Regions from separate parts of the Homo sapiens genome. Here all the other regions are linked to region 5. The links are contacts of gene promoters, found by promoter capture Hi-C in blood cells and fetal thymus (Javierre and others, 2016). All regions are on one chromosome and are shown on one strand. The core of a region is centred on a gene start or on the middle of the fragment in contact, and the rest is flanking DNA. Distances in the headings are between cores, read along the strand shown.

Region 1 (2,700 bases), core at 170-2,669, 3.0 Mb after region 5:
ATGCAATTGCCAAAACTAATAAAATTAAGCCTGTAAAAATTGTGCATTTCATTCTATGCTAGTTATACCATTAAAAACTGGTTCATTTAAAAAATGCTCCCTACTTTTCTCACTGGAAAATGTAATAATTTACAAATAGTATAATCAAATCTATATTCACTATAAAATTAACTACAGGATGATCAGGTCCAACTAGAAATATTTTGGATAAGGTATTCTTTTAACTTTTCAGTGATAGGTGATGGAAAAGCAATTATCTGAGATCACAGACTACTAGAATTCCTCATGTTCTAATTTTTGCAGAATCTAGGAATGAACACGCACCATTTAGCCACATTTCTTTCACCTGTTGGTCAGAACTTTATGTTTGAGGATTTTCAATGGGAAATTGCTTGTTTGTGTCACTGGTTGTCTTATGTTATGTTTGGAGGAAAAGGGCTTGGGAGAAAAACAGGACAGATAATACAGAGTGTTCAACTAGAAATCCCCAAATCAGGATTCTAGCTCTAGGATTAAAATGTACAGGGCAACTTTGGACACGGTACTTGAATTTTCTGTGCTTGTGATATTCTGCTATCACAAGGCTGTCATAGGATAAAGTGTATTAATTTGTGGAAATACTTTGAAAAGTCAAAGCAATATATTATTCTAACATGATACCATAGACATAGTCAAGCCCCAAACTTAATCCTGACAGTTATAGGTTCTTGGAAAGCCCCCATACATATCTCACTTTAACTTGAATAGAATGTTCAAGAGGGTGGAAACAGGTAGGTTACCCTCTCTCTTTAAAAAAGGGGGTGAGAGGGTGATGTGTTTTCCACGATTGAACTTCCAGAACTCTAGATTTCTGGAATTTATCTTCCAAAAGACTTGGTATAATCTGGTAAATATTGAAAGAGGAGTGGGGAATAAGGCCCGGATTAAGATAAATTCTTCCTGTCCCTAGTGTTGTCAACAATCAATGAGGAGATGAATTGCTCCTGGAGTACAGGAAGCTTGACTTCTAAAATATTGTTAAACAAGCAATCAGAAAACATTTACTGTATTCTTTCACAAATCTTTGGCACACACCCAAGAGCTCCCTCAAACTGCGTGCATCCCAGGAATGAGTGAGAGCAAGGCCTAGATGTCTTCAGATCATCCATCACAGCTCCCTCCCGCCTCCATTCCAGGTCCAGCGGAGCGGCCTCGGGCAATCACACCCTTCCCTGACCTCCCCCTCCCCAGGGCCGCCAGCCTCACCAGCTGTTCCCGGCTGCTGGAGCTCCGATCGGTTGGCGCCCGGCGGCCCCGAACATTAACGACACCCGGGAGCCTGGCCTCGAAGCTCAGGCCCGTGAACAGACTCCAACTACAACAGCACCGGCGACTTCCAAAGAGCAGTTCAGCATTTTGAGATGAGCTTCCGGAAGCCGACAGGCGGCGGAAACCGGATGCCCGGAGCAACCATTAGTTCTCCGCGTTTACTGCTTTCCCCTTCCTATAATCCCCTCTTCCTACTCGCAGTAGAGACAGAGACAAATAAATTAAACTTTTGTGCTACACAGAAATTTCTTAATTCTCTTTTTAGTGCTCTTAAAGTCAAAGCAGCATGAGAGAAAAGAGGAGTGAACAAAAAGTCGAACCCCGGGAGTGAGCTATGGTTTAGCCCAGTTACCATGGAGACCGGTAGTAACACCAGTTGTAAACCCAAGGCCAAGAGACCATGGCCACGTTAGCCCGGCTGCAAGCTAGGTCGTCGACTGTAGGAAATCAGTACTACTTTAGGAACAGGTAAGTCAGGAAGAGAAGGATCGCGTAAAGGGCGGGCGTGACTTTATACCAGTTGTTCCTCAGCGGGAGTTTCCAATTAACGATTTAACGATTACCCTAATTCATTAAGTAGTACCCAATTCTTCCCTTAATGGGCTGCAAACATAATTGGGAGTTTCTGTTACCATACAACGAAATTCTAAATAGAGAGGGGCCGTAGATATTCAGTGTGAGATGATTTAAGGAAACTCCCAGCATAGATAAAATTGTAAAGTGCTTTTTTTCTTCGACATCACCACTCTGCAATTTGATGAAACCTATGTTCAATACCCTGACTGGGGGTCACCCTGACTCACTAGCCCAATGAACTCAGATTGTGTCCCATCTACCTAGGGATTTGAGCCTCCGTTATTTTACAAACATCACTAAACTCAATTGTTCTATGACTCATTCGCCTTTTTAAAATGAACGTATCTGCCGGGTGTGGTGGCTCACGCCTGTAATCCCAGCACTTTGGGAGGCCGAGGGGGGCGAATCACCTGAGGCCAGGAGTTCTAGACCAACCAGGACAACATGGTGAAACCCCGTCTCTATTAAAAATACAAAAACTAGCCGGGCATGGTGGCACATGCCTGTCATCCCAGCTAGTCCGGAGGCTGAGGCAGGAGAATCGCTTGAACCTGGGAGGCAGAGGTTGCAGTGACCCGACATTGTACCACTGCACTCCAGCCTGGGTGACAAATTAAGACCCTGTCTCAATAAATAAATAAATAAATATAAATAAAATAAAATAAAATGAAAGTGTCTAAACCATTCTGACACGGTAACTAGTACCAATATATTAATTAATAGATAACGGGTAAGAAAACCACTAGCAGTCTTCTTCATCTCCCTACAGCCAAACTTCTTGCCCAGGAAGAGTTTCATTTTAAAGAAGCATTGCCC
Region 2 (2,755 bases), core at 18-2,517, 3.4 Mb before region 5:
GCAACGGAGCAAGATTCCGTCTCAATAAATAAATAAATAAATAAATAAATAAATAAATAAAATGTTAGATATATACATCTTGTTGGCTGTATCTCTATAGTCACTTTGCTTCAAGACACTACGTGTTGTCACGTGCGTGTGTGTGTGTGTGTGTGTGTGTTCCTTTCCTTATCCATATGAGTACTTTTCTGGAGTAGGCTCACATTTTTTGTTCCTATTTCCTTCCTCCACTTCTCAATCCACTGCAGCTTGGCTTTTCAGCCCATTAATCCCAGTAAAATTGCTTTTACCAGAATCATTCATGACCTCTTACTTGCATAAGCATTTAAGTCTTATCTCTCTTGGCCTGGTGACCCTGTTTCTCTTTGCATCTCTCTATACCCCTGGTTTCAGTAAAGCACAGTCTCCTAGTTCTCTTCCTATTTCTCAATTCCTTTTCACTCTCTTTCATGGATTTTTTTTTTTCTTCTTTTACACTCTTTAATATTGGTGTTCCCTTGCTTTTCATTCTCAGCTCATTATACTTTTCATCTTGTATGCTCTTCTTGTGTGACTTAGTTAGGTCTTTCTATGGTCTGAATGTATGTGTTCCCCCAAAATTCATATGTTGGAACTTAGTACCCACTGTGATTGTATTAAGAGGTGGGGCCTTTTGGGAAACTATTAAGGCATGAGTGGGGTTAGTGCCCTTATAAAAGATGTTGAAGGGAACTGCCTTGCCTCTTCTGCCTTGTGAGGACACAGCAACAAGGCAACATCTATGAAGCAGAGAATGCTCCCCAGACACCAAATCTGCTGATTCCCTGATCTTGGACTTGCCAGCCTCCAGAACTGTGAGAAATAAGTTTCTATTGTTTGTAAATGACCCAGTCTAAGGTATTTTGTTATGCAGCCTGAATGGACTAAGACAGGTCTTACAACCTTGGTTAGCTACAACCAATCACTAGCAACTCCTCTCTCTCCAGTGCTGATATTAATTTTATATCCAACTGCATATTGGATATCTCACTATGGAGTACCCAATATATCCAGAAATAAATTCATTCTTTTTTTTTTTTTTTTTGAGACAGAGTTTAGCTCTTGTTACCCAGGCTAGAGTGCAATGGCACCATCTTGGCTCACCGCAACCTCTGCCTCCTGGGTTCAAGTGATTCTCCTGCCTCAGCATCCCAAGTAGCTGGCATTACAGGCATGCACCACCATGCCCAGCTAATTTTGTTTAGTAGAGATGGGGTTTCTCCATGTTGGTCAGGCTGGTCTCGAACTCCCAACCTCAGGTGATCTGTCTGCCTTGGCCTCCCAAAGTGCTGGGATTACAGGCGTGAGCCACTGCACCCGGCGACTCATCCTTCTTGTCCCATAAAATGGCAAGTCTTCAGTATTCATCATCTCAGTTGTTGACACAATCATCTATCCAGACACCCAAGCCAAAATCCTTGTATCAGATTAAATTCATCCCTTCCTTTTGTCTTTCTATATTCAGTTCGTCCCCAGATTTTGCTAATTTTAGCTACTAAATATTTTTATCTGTCCCTGCCTCTAGCCTTGCTACCACTGCTGTAATTTAAGCCTCATCATTTCTTGATTACTTCAATAGTGTCCTTTTTTTTGAGGGTGGGGGTACAAATTCTATTCCATCTAAAATACCAATTGGACCCAATCTCCTGCTTAGATCTCTCTGATCCTGTTTCATTATCTGTAAATTGCCTAACCCTTTCGAATGCTATAAAAGACTTAATGTGATTCAGAACTTGCCTAACTCTGAGTTCACTTCATATTCTAGGAATACAAAACCGTTTTTAGTTGTCTGACATAACATCTTAATTCAATATTCTTTGCCTTTCCCATACTATTTTCTGTATCTGGAATGCTCATATTTTCCTTTATAAATAGTGCTTTTTTTTTGAGATGGAGTCTTGCTCTGTCACCCAGGCTGGAGTGCAGTGGCATGGTCTCAGCTCACTGCAACCTCCACCTCCTGGGTTTAAGTGATTCTCCTGCCTCAGCCTCCTGAGGAGCTGGGACTACAGGTGCGTGCCACCATACCCAGCTAATTTTTGTATTTTTAGTAAAGACAGGGTTTCACCATGTTGGCCAGGATGGTCTGAATCTCCTGACCTCGTGATCCCGCCCGCCTCGGCCTCCCAAAGTGCTGGGATTACTGGTGTGAGCAACCACGACCGGCATAAACAGTGCTTTCTCTATCCTGTTTAAGAAATGTTTGACTACCTGAAATTATAAAAGTGTTATTGTTTTACCTTTTACATTGAGGTCCACAACGTATTTTGATTTTTTTTTTCAGTATGAGTAGGCATCAAGGTTACTTTCTTTCCACATGATATGCATTGCCCCAGCATTACTTATTGACATGTCAAGTTTTCTCCACATTACTACAGTGTCACCTTTACATAAATAAAATGTTCACATAAGCATCTGTTTGGGAACTCTATTCGATCCATTTTTCTATTTTCTATCCTTACGCCAGTACCACAATAATTTTTATAGATGCTTTAGCAGTAATATCTGGGGGTATAAATCCTCCAACTTTGTTCTTTTTCTAGATTGTCTTGGTTGTTCTTGACCTTCCCAATTTCCATATAAATTTTGGAATCAGCTTGCAATTTAATACACACACACACACACACACACACACACACACACACTCACACCCTGCTGGTATTCTAGTAGAGATTAGCCTAAATCTACTAAATCAATTTGGGTAGAGCAGTATCTTTAGGATATCTAGTCTTCCAGG
Region 3 (2,700 bases), core at 35-2,534, 4.6 Mb after region 5:
CTGGGGCCACTGCCTTCAGTATTAAAAGATACCTATGTTTTGGACTTTATACAGGAAATAATTCCATTTCTTAGTATTTTTAAAATTATGGTAAAATACACATAAAATTTACTAGGTGTATAGTTCACTGGCAGTTATTAACACTGTTGTACAACCATCATCACTGTCCATTTTTAAAAATGTTTCACTATCTAAGCAGAAACTCTTGTACTCATTAAACAACAACCTCCCAACTCCCTCTTCCCTTAGTCCCTGGTAACCTCTAATTTCACTTTCTGTCCCTATGCATTTGCCAATTCTAGATATCTCATGTAAGTGGAATCATACAATTATTTGTCCTTTTGTGTCTGGCTTCACTCGGCATAATGTTTTCAAGGTTCATCCATGTTGTAGCATGTATCCGAATCACATTCTTTTTACAGGCTGAATAATATTCCATTCCAATATGTACATAGCACATTTGGTTTATCTCTCCATCTGTAGATGAACATTTGAGTTGTTTCCACTTTTTGGTACTTGTGAATAATGCTGCTACAGAACACTGAAGTACAAGTATTTGTTTGAGTCCCTGCTTTCATCTCTTTTGGGTATATACCTAGAAGTGGAACTGCTAGTACCTATGCTAAGTCAATGTTTAACTTGTTGAGGAGCCACCAAATTATTTCTATTGCCGCAACATCATTTTACATTCTGATCAGCTATGCACAAGGTTTCTAATTTCTACACATCTTTACTAATACTTATTTTCTGTTTTTTTGATAAGAGCCATTCTAATGGGTATATAAAGCAGAATCTCATTAAATTAGATTTGCTTTGTAAACTATTTATTAAAAATAAGAGACACGAAGAGAACTTATTATTATATGCTTCGCTTACCCTGTATATCAAGAGCTGCAAACATCCTGTGCGAGTCCCAAAGTGAAAGGTAAAATATGGTTCTATTAAATTTTAAACATAGTAACACGAATATTTCTCCAAATAAGGTAATCTTGAGTTTTGGGATTGCATTTAAAATTCCTACAGCAAATGCTCAGGATATAAACATATCCATTAGTCATTACAGAAGTCCACACGAGGCTGACACACGTAGAATACCATTATTAGCAAAACTAAACTCAGTACAGTTACAACTGCCTCAAACTTGACCCCAAAGTATTGAAAGCTCCTCAGAGAGCGGGCCAGCAGCGCTGCGCATGCGCGCTCCCGGGCGTGCTCCCGCGCGTGCCTGCGTATTTGCGTGCGCGGCCCCGCGCGGCAACGCAGGGGCGGAACCGCATGACTGGCAGTGGCATCAGCGATGGCGGCTGCGTCGGGGTCGGTTCTGCAGCGCTGTATCGTGTCGCCGGCAGGGAGGCATAGCGCCTCTCTGATCTTCCTGCATGGCTCAGGTGGATTTCAATTTTACGTCCTGGTTTTCTACAGCTCGGGAAACATCCTCCCCTCGGTTACCCCAGTATTGCCCAAGTGGAGGTGTCGCCGGGCCCAAATAGGGCCCAGTGGGTGGCTCCCCCGTCGCCAGCCCCGGCTGTAGATGCACGGGCAGCGCCACCTGCCCCCAGCCTCCCCCGTTAGTCTTCCTCTTTCTATCGGGCGGTCACTGGTCCACCACCCTCGCTTTGGGGCCTTGTGTCCCGCCGCTCAGCCAGCCCTCCATCCCCACAACACACCTCCCCATTCCTCGCCCCAAGTTTAAACAGAGCAAGTTAGTAAGGTAAGTCTTCTGCTAGAGGGAAATTATTTAGTGTTTTTCATTATCAGCTACTAGTGATTTTTCAGTCGTAATTGCCCATTGCTTTTTCCAGGCTCCCATACTAATGTAGACAATTGAGATTCACAGTTAACTTAGATACTGTTTACAGATTATCTCTTTTCTGTAAGCCACTGTGCCATGGCTGGAGTGCTTTCTCTCACTTTCCTTTTTGCTGCTTCTCTTTCCTTCCTTTCCCTTTCCCGCCTGTGTCATTAAACTTCCAAGATAGACTACAGGGGCAGGACCCCCAGGGACAGGCATCTTCCACTACCTGCCCTTAGTAACGTGTGCTTAATGCTGTATCGTTACTTAACACTCATCTGTAATCACTTTTGTCTGTCTTCCCCACTGGATTGTGAACTTCCCACTGGATTATGAGAGTAAGGGCCCTTGTGTCAACCTTTGCACCCCCAGTGCTTGGCCCAGGGTAAGCTCTCAGGAAATGTTTTTTAAAGAAATGAGATGCAGCCGGTGTCCTCAGGGGGCCTACCTAAAGTTAAAAACAAAAACAATCCAATTAGTTTGAGTCAGCAGTGCATGGAAGATCACAAGACGGTGCATGGTTTCCTGCCAAGTGAATTGTAAGAGAAAAAAATGTGGTTAGGCATTATTAAGGCATTTGGAAGATGAAAAGCTTGTCAGACTTTTCGAAGAAAGTGGTCTTTGAGCCGAGACGGGTAGGCTTAAATGGGACGGTGATTGGAAGGGAATTGGAAAGGTACTGGGCAGAGACCTGGAAAAGGGCAATTGTGGGAGGTATTCTCTTTATTTTGAAAATGAGGCCAGACAGGTTCAGCAGCTTGGCCAAGGTCTCTTAGCTGTTACTGTGAGTAGTGGCGGATTTGGGATTAGAACCCAAAGCTCTCCGACCTCAAACTCAGGGCTTTGGTGGGGTAAGGTGAAAAAGTTTGAACTAGGATATATTGTTTTGGAGATAGGGAAGAAGAGGT
Region 4 (2,700 bases), core at 165-2,664, 3.7 Mb after region 5:
GTCGCCGAGGCTGGAGTGCAGAGTCGCGATCTCCGCTCACTGCAACCTCCGCCTCCAAGGTTCAAGCGATTCTCCTGCTTCAGCCTCCCGAGTAACTGGGACTACAGGCACTCGTCACTGCGTTTGGCTAATTTGTGTATTTTTAGTAGAGATGGGGTTTCACCATGTTGGCCAGGCTGTTCTCAAACTCCTGGACTCAAGCGATCCACTTATCTCAGCCTCCCAAAGTGCTGGGATTACAGGTGTGAGCCACCGCACCCGGCTAGACCCTCTCTCTCTTAAAAGACAAAAAAATTAAAAACCAAGTTTAAAAATGTTGTATTGAGTTTTTAGGATGTGAATATATATTTATTTCCTACATAAACATCTACTGGAATATGTCAAAATGAGGATTCTTGTTTTTGTTTTTGACTTATGGGTATCACAATCTATGAACCTCCTTAAGAGGGGAAAGGGAAAACGCTAAGTTTGGGGAAAGCCTTTAGAACAAGTCTAGCCAGTAAAGGTTTGCTGCATTATCCATCTGAGTCATTAACTTTGTCAATAGTTATATTCTGTCACTCATTCATTGATTCATTCATCCCTTCCAAAAATATTTTTGGAAAATTCACTTCAGGCCAACTTCTGTTGCTAACCTTGAGGGGACATGGTAAATGAAATACGTTCCCCTCCTGCGAGAAGCCAACATTTTAGGGGGGAAAATGAAGGCCGACTGTGGTAGGTGCTTCGATGGAACTAGGAGCTGGTGACAGAGGCTAACTTCAGAGAAAAGCTAGCCCCGGGTGGGAGGCAGGATCCTCGCGCGGATAGCAAGGTATTCGCACCCTCGGTCTGCACTGCGCAGTCGGGCGCCAGAAACCCTCCAGGCCCCAGCCGGGTCCGAGGGAGAAGGGTGCGGTTGGATTCAACACCCGCCCCAGGGAAAGAAGGTGAGTCTATTCGGTTTGCAAGAAAGGTCTCGCGTGTTATCTTGGGCGGGGGGATGATACGATCGTATTCTAATTATCGGCCCCCAGTGGATCTGTCCCGCGTCCTAGCTGCTGCGGCGTTCAGTGGGCACGTAAGAGACACCTGAGGAGGACACTAAACCAACATTAAGGCAGCAGACAAGGGAAGCCGCCGAGGCTAGGAAATCAAAGTGGACCGCGCTGGGCTGGGGACGGGCTGGGGACGCACTGGGGCGGAGGACCAGGGCACAGGCGAGCTAGCGGAGGAGTCGGCTGAGGCCATTCAGCCGCTGATTTTCGTCCTGGAACGGACTTCGCGTAAACACACCGAGCCATTCAGAGCTCTCTCCAAGTCACATTCTGAGGCTCCGGCCCCGGAACTCTGGGCTAGACGACCCCGCCCCGGAACCTTGTGTTACCGGCACTAAATGCAGAAGTTCCTCTGGTTGCCACCGGACGCAACTGTCAGGTGACGCTTCCGGCGCAGAAAAATGGCAGCCGCCGCTCCGGACTCACGTGTGAGTGAGGAAGAAAACCTGAAAAAGACCCCAAAGAAGAAGATGAAAATGGTAACTGGAGCCGTAGCGTCGGTGCTGGAAGACGAGGCCACAGACACTTCTGATAGTGAAGGTAATGTGGTAGGGCTGAGCTTTGGTGTCTGGGAGGAAAGGCGGGGCTGAGTTCGTGTCAAGCAGCGCTTGCGACTTCATTTGCTGCTAGCCACCTGGGTTTTATCTTGGCACCACTTCAGAGGGGCGACTTTGGCTTAGTGAGGAGGCTTGGGGAAGTCGTGTTCAGAGAAGTAACGCTGTCAACTGTAATTTTGAGTTTCCACATTCTTTTACTAGGTATTTTCAGGGTCACCATTATTAATTATAATAAAATGGGTGAAACACCTGCAGCTACCGAGAAACTTACAGTAGCAAAGGGTGAAAGGAAGAGGGTACTTGAAAACAGGAGAAGAATGGGTCTCATAGGGTGTAAGAAGCAAAAGGTTAAAAGAGGTAAGAGGAAGAAGGGGGTGTACTTGACTTTTTGTGCGGTAGATGTGTGCGTGTTTTAGAGACTAAATAATAGTGAATGAAAGAAGAGTTTGGTGGTTAAGGTCGATTAAAAACTGGTAGTGTTTGATAACTATGTCTCTCAGAGACGCTTGATAATAAAAGGAAGGAAGGATGTGTTTTTGAGGCTTTCAACCATGCTGTGTCTGTTGCTCCTCTTTACCATCATTCTTGGCACCAGCTTATTAGGTTACAAGGAATTGCAGGTAATCCCTGACTTCCTACTGCCCAGTTATTGCTCCTTTGTACCAGCTGATACCCAAAAAACAGACAGAGCTATTCTTTTATAACGTATTTCTAATTATGCCCGCTGTCTGTTTGAGATGATCCAGTGGCTTCTCATCTCAGTATATAATATCCAAAATCCTTAGGCTGTATGATTTGGGCCAGGTTGTCTGTCATAGGCCAATATGCCCCTCACAAACCACTAACTGTAATCATGCCATACCGGTATGCTTGTGTTTAACACCTTAAACATGCTCCCACACCATGGTTTCTTCATTTGTTGGCTCCGCTGCCTAGAATAGTTTTCAAATGCTTGGCATGTCTCTCCCTCACCAGCCTCTGATCCAGTGCCTTACCAGAGAGACTTGTCCCTGACTACCCTATGTAACGTACCACCACTACTCTTCTTCCTGCCTTCTTTTCTTCACTTTTTGACTTATTGCCCTGCTTTATTTTTTCTCAACCCT
Region 5 (2,784 bases), core at 205-2,704:
CAATAGATATCTGCTGAAGAACGAATGAATGAATAGTAAATGCAAATTTCTTATTCAAACCTTAAAAATATCCTCTATTATCTGTCTTTCTAGCTGTTTATTTTTCCTTAAACAGCCTATACATAGTTGAATAATTACTCTGGGAAGCAATGGAATTGTAATTTGTGTTGAAGCCAGACACAATTTGGTTCAAATTCTAAAACTACCAGACACTAGACTGATCATGGCAATGTCTGACAAAAGTTTTCCTCCCCTACCTGCTCTCTCCCCTCCCTTTGGGGATTCGAAGGTAGAAGATAGTAAGAACAAGGCCTTTCCCCAAATAGCAGTTTTATCTCCCAAGATGATCTGGATTTTAAATTACTATGTGCAAAGTTACTAGGGATGCAAAAATGAATTAAAACAGATTTTACTGTAAAGGAATTTTTGAGTCTGATGGGGGAGTCAGACGTAGACATAAATACAAGACAAGACACGGCGAAAATCCTAAACATGAAGTTTGCAAGTTCCAGGAAAGGTCTAGGAAATAATTATCTCTAAGGAGTGGGTGGGATTAGGGAGGTTTTATAAAAAAAGTGACACTTGAATTGGGTACTGCAGGAACAGTCTAATGAAAGGTAAAGTCAGGGGGCTGGAAAGTTTGGTACCTATTGAGGCAGACAACAGCATTAGAGATCTATTACTTTAACAATTAATTGTTTTGCTTCTGCCTTTAGAAGCTTATTTATAGTTTAATAGGGAAATAAAACGAGTATATAACATACATAGAAAACTAGTGGGCTTCACGAAAAGCATTACACCCCGTTTTGAGGATTCTTCTGAATTTTAAATTCTGATGCAGTGTCCTCCCCCCACGCCTTAATCCCGGAAAATAAGTGTTCAGAATCACGTCTTAGAAATATGAACCATAAAGGACAGCATTTAAGAGCGACATCCTGCATTGCGTAGATTCAATTTCAAATTACTGTACTTAGCTTCTATGAGCCTGTTAACTTTTTAATAAAATGAGGATAATACTTTCCTCAAAGAATTGTTAAGAACGACACCGGATAAAGAATGCATGACAAACACAGCACCTAGTATCTATGTCCTAAATTTACGTTTAATTAAGTAGATTGGTACGTGCAGTTTAAAAGAGGTTTCACCAGGCAGCACAGTTCCCCTGGCTGTAGGCGATAGACCACGCCTTCCTAATCAGCGGGCGCATTCCCTGACTTTTGCGGAAATAGCGGTCCAAAACCGCGTCTAGCATTAGCAAAAGCACGTGGTCTCCGTCTCCCCGCAACAACAAAAAAGAACAGTAAACTCCGGCGCAGGCACCTCCAGTAGAGGGCTTGTTTTTAAAATCCATCCGAAAGGGCCAATCAGACGCGGCAGTCTGAGTGCGCAGGCGCGGATTGGTCCGCAGCTACTTAGAGTGACCAATAGGCGTGGAGGTAAGTTTGGTTGAGACCAGAAGCGGGCGAATTGGGCACCGGTGGCGGCTGCGGGCAGTTTGAATTAGACTCTGGGCTCCAGCCCGCCGAAGCCGCGCCAGAACTGTACTCTCCGAGAGGTCGTTTTCCCGTCCCCGAGAGCAAGGTGAGCGTCCTGACTGGGTCCGGATCCTGGCCCTGGCGGCGGGCGGTAGGCGGCGGGCGGCGTGGGGGTGCCGCTGGCTTTTTGCCGGCGGGTACTGGGCGGGGAGGCCTCTGGGATCACTCTCCCGGCCCTGTAGGTGCCGGGGACCGCCCCCTCCCACCCGACCGAACTGGAGAATCCGCCCCGGGATGTGGTTCGTAGGGGTGTCTGCGCCCTTCTGCTCGGGTTCAAACTGGTCTCGGATTAGTGTCCCAGACCCTACTCGGTCACGGACTCACACTTTAGGGGATCATTTTCTTCCTCCGTAAAAGAATTGGAGATGACTAGGTATTTCCAAGCCGCCTTCCCAGTCCCGTAACCAACCTTATTGAAATTCAGGCCCTGGTCCTTTGTTTTATTGAGTAGATGTAAGCTTGAGTTTTGATCTGGTTGGCGACGTGGGGTGCCTATGGTTAGTTACGCGAGCATTTCTCTTTCCCCTCTCTTCTTCCTCCCGTCCACATTTTTTTTTTTCTTTTTTTAAATAGAGATAGGCCTCCCTATATTGCCTAGGCTGGTCTGGAACCCCTGGGCTCAAGGGATCCTCCCGCCTTGGCCTCTGTAAGTGCCAGGATTACAAGCATGAGCCACTACGCCCGGTCCTCCCTTCCACATTTATTTGAACGCGCCTGTGTGCCCGGCTCGGCTGTGTAATGAGGACCCAGAAATAAAAGGCATGGGTCGTGTCCTTGAGCCTGACCTAGAGGAGAAGGCAGGGTTATCATTCTCAGACCCAGCCTTGGTACAGTGCACGGGGACTCTGGCTTTTTGGAGGAGGTGGGGAATTCTGACAACGGGAAAGCAGTGGTGGAGGTGGGGCAGGAGGAGGTCACACAAGAGCTTCCTTGGGGACTAAGGGACTGGGTAGTTCGGGCATGAAGAGTGCCCTCCACGTATTTAAGAGATAAAGATACAGCATTTTCTGGAAAGGACAATAGTCCTGCAAGTCCTCCATGCAGGAACCTTCATCCAGGGCTTTTCTTCACTCCCCACCTCGATTCCCTGTTCCTCAAAAGTAAACTTCTGGGTTTATTTTTTTGTTCTTTTGCCCCAATGGCCCAATACAGGTGGCTGATAGCTGATCCCTTAATGGGCCAAAATCTGCTCTAATCACAGTTAGCTTGGTCTACATCTATATTGTTCTCTATCTTAGACTTTGGAATG

Evidence for each region. Contacts are between HindIII fragments. The CHiCAGO score rates a contact against its expected background, and 5 or more counts as called.
Region 1: the fragment with the promoter of GPATCH2 here is called in contact with the fragment with the promoter of CENPF in region 5 in 10 of 17 cell types (naive CD8 T cells, total CD8 T cells, total CD4 T cells and 7 more); the score reaches 16.3 in naive CD8 T cells.
Region 2: a contact is called between a fragment that was not itself captured here and the fragment with the promoter of CENPF in region 5, in 1 of 17 cell types (monocytes). The highest score is 6.7, in monocytes.
Region 3: a contact is called between the fragment with the promoter of LYPLAL1 here and the fragment with the promoter of CENPF in region 5, in 6 of 17 cell types (total CD8 T cells, non-activated CD4 T cells, fetal thymus and 3 more). The highest score is 18.1, in total CD8 T cells.
Region 4: a contact is called between the fragment with the promoter of RRP15 here and the fragment with the promoter of CENPF in region 5, in 2 of 17 cell types (total CD8 T cells and total CD4 T cells). The highest score is 7.0, in total CD8 T cells.

The regions. Positions count from the first base shown.
Region 1 is chr1:217,629,671-217,632,370 of GRCh38, forward strand. It overlaps GPATCH2 (G-patch domain containing 2), which reads right to left and starts at 1,420. Exons shown (of 10, transcript NM_018040.5): 1 at 1,246-1,420. The coding sequence starts at 1,301. It overlaps SPATA17 (spermatogenesis associated 17), which reads left to right and starts at 1,674. Exons shown (of 11, transcript NM_138796.4): 1 at 1,674-1,776. The coding sequence starts at 1,709. RefSeq lists enhancers at 1,359-1,428, 1,459-1,698. The HindIII fragment of the contact is 9,292 bases long and covers 997-2,700 here.
Region 2 is chr1:211,251,655-211,254,409 of GRCh38, forward strand. No RefSeq gene overlaps it. Among named protein-coding and RNA genes, the nearest start is that of RCOR3, 6.3 kb to the right of the region's middle. The HindIII fragment of the contact is 9,951 bases long and covers 1-2,755 here.
Region 3 is chr1:219,172,594-219,175,293 of GRCh38, forward strand. It overlaps LYPLAL1 (lysophospholipase like 1), which reads left to right and starts at 1,285. Exons shown (of 5, transcript NM_138794.5): 1 at 1,285-1,388. The coding sequence starts at 1,298. It overlaps LYPLAL1-DT (LYPLAL1 divergent transcript), which reads right to left and starts at 1,195. Exons shown (of 5, transcript NR_038845.1): 1 at 877-1,195. RefSeq lists enhancers at 1,116-1,165, 1,246-1,575. The HindIII fragment of the contact is 2,433 bases long and covers 1-2,382 here.
Region 4 is chr1:218,283,879-218,286,578 of GRCh38, forward strand. RRP15 (ribosomal RNA processing 15 homolog) reads left to right here and starts at 1,415. Exons shown (of 5, transcript NM_016052.4): 1 at 1,415-1,577. The coding sequence starts at 1,439. RefSeq lists enhancers at 793-862, 1,393-1,672. The HindIII fragment of the contact is 12,027 bases long and covers 1-2,700 here.
Region 5 is chr1:214,601,741-214,604,524 of GRCh38, forward strand. CENPF (centromere protein F) reads left to right here and starts at 1,455. Exons shown (of 20, transcript NM_016343.4): 1 at 1,455-1,581. RefSeq lists a silencer at 1,349-1,558. The HindIII fragment of the contact is 1,274 bases long and covers 718-1,991 here.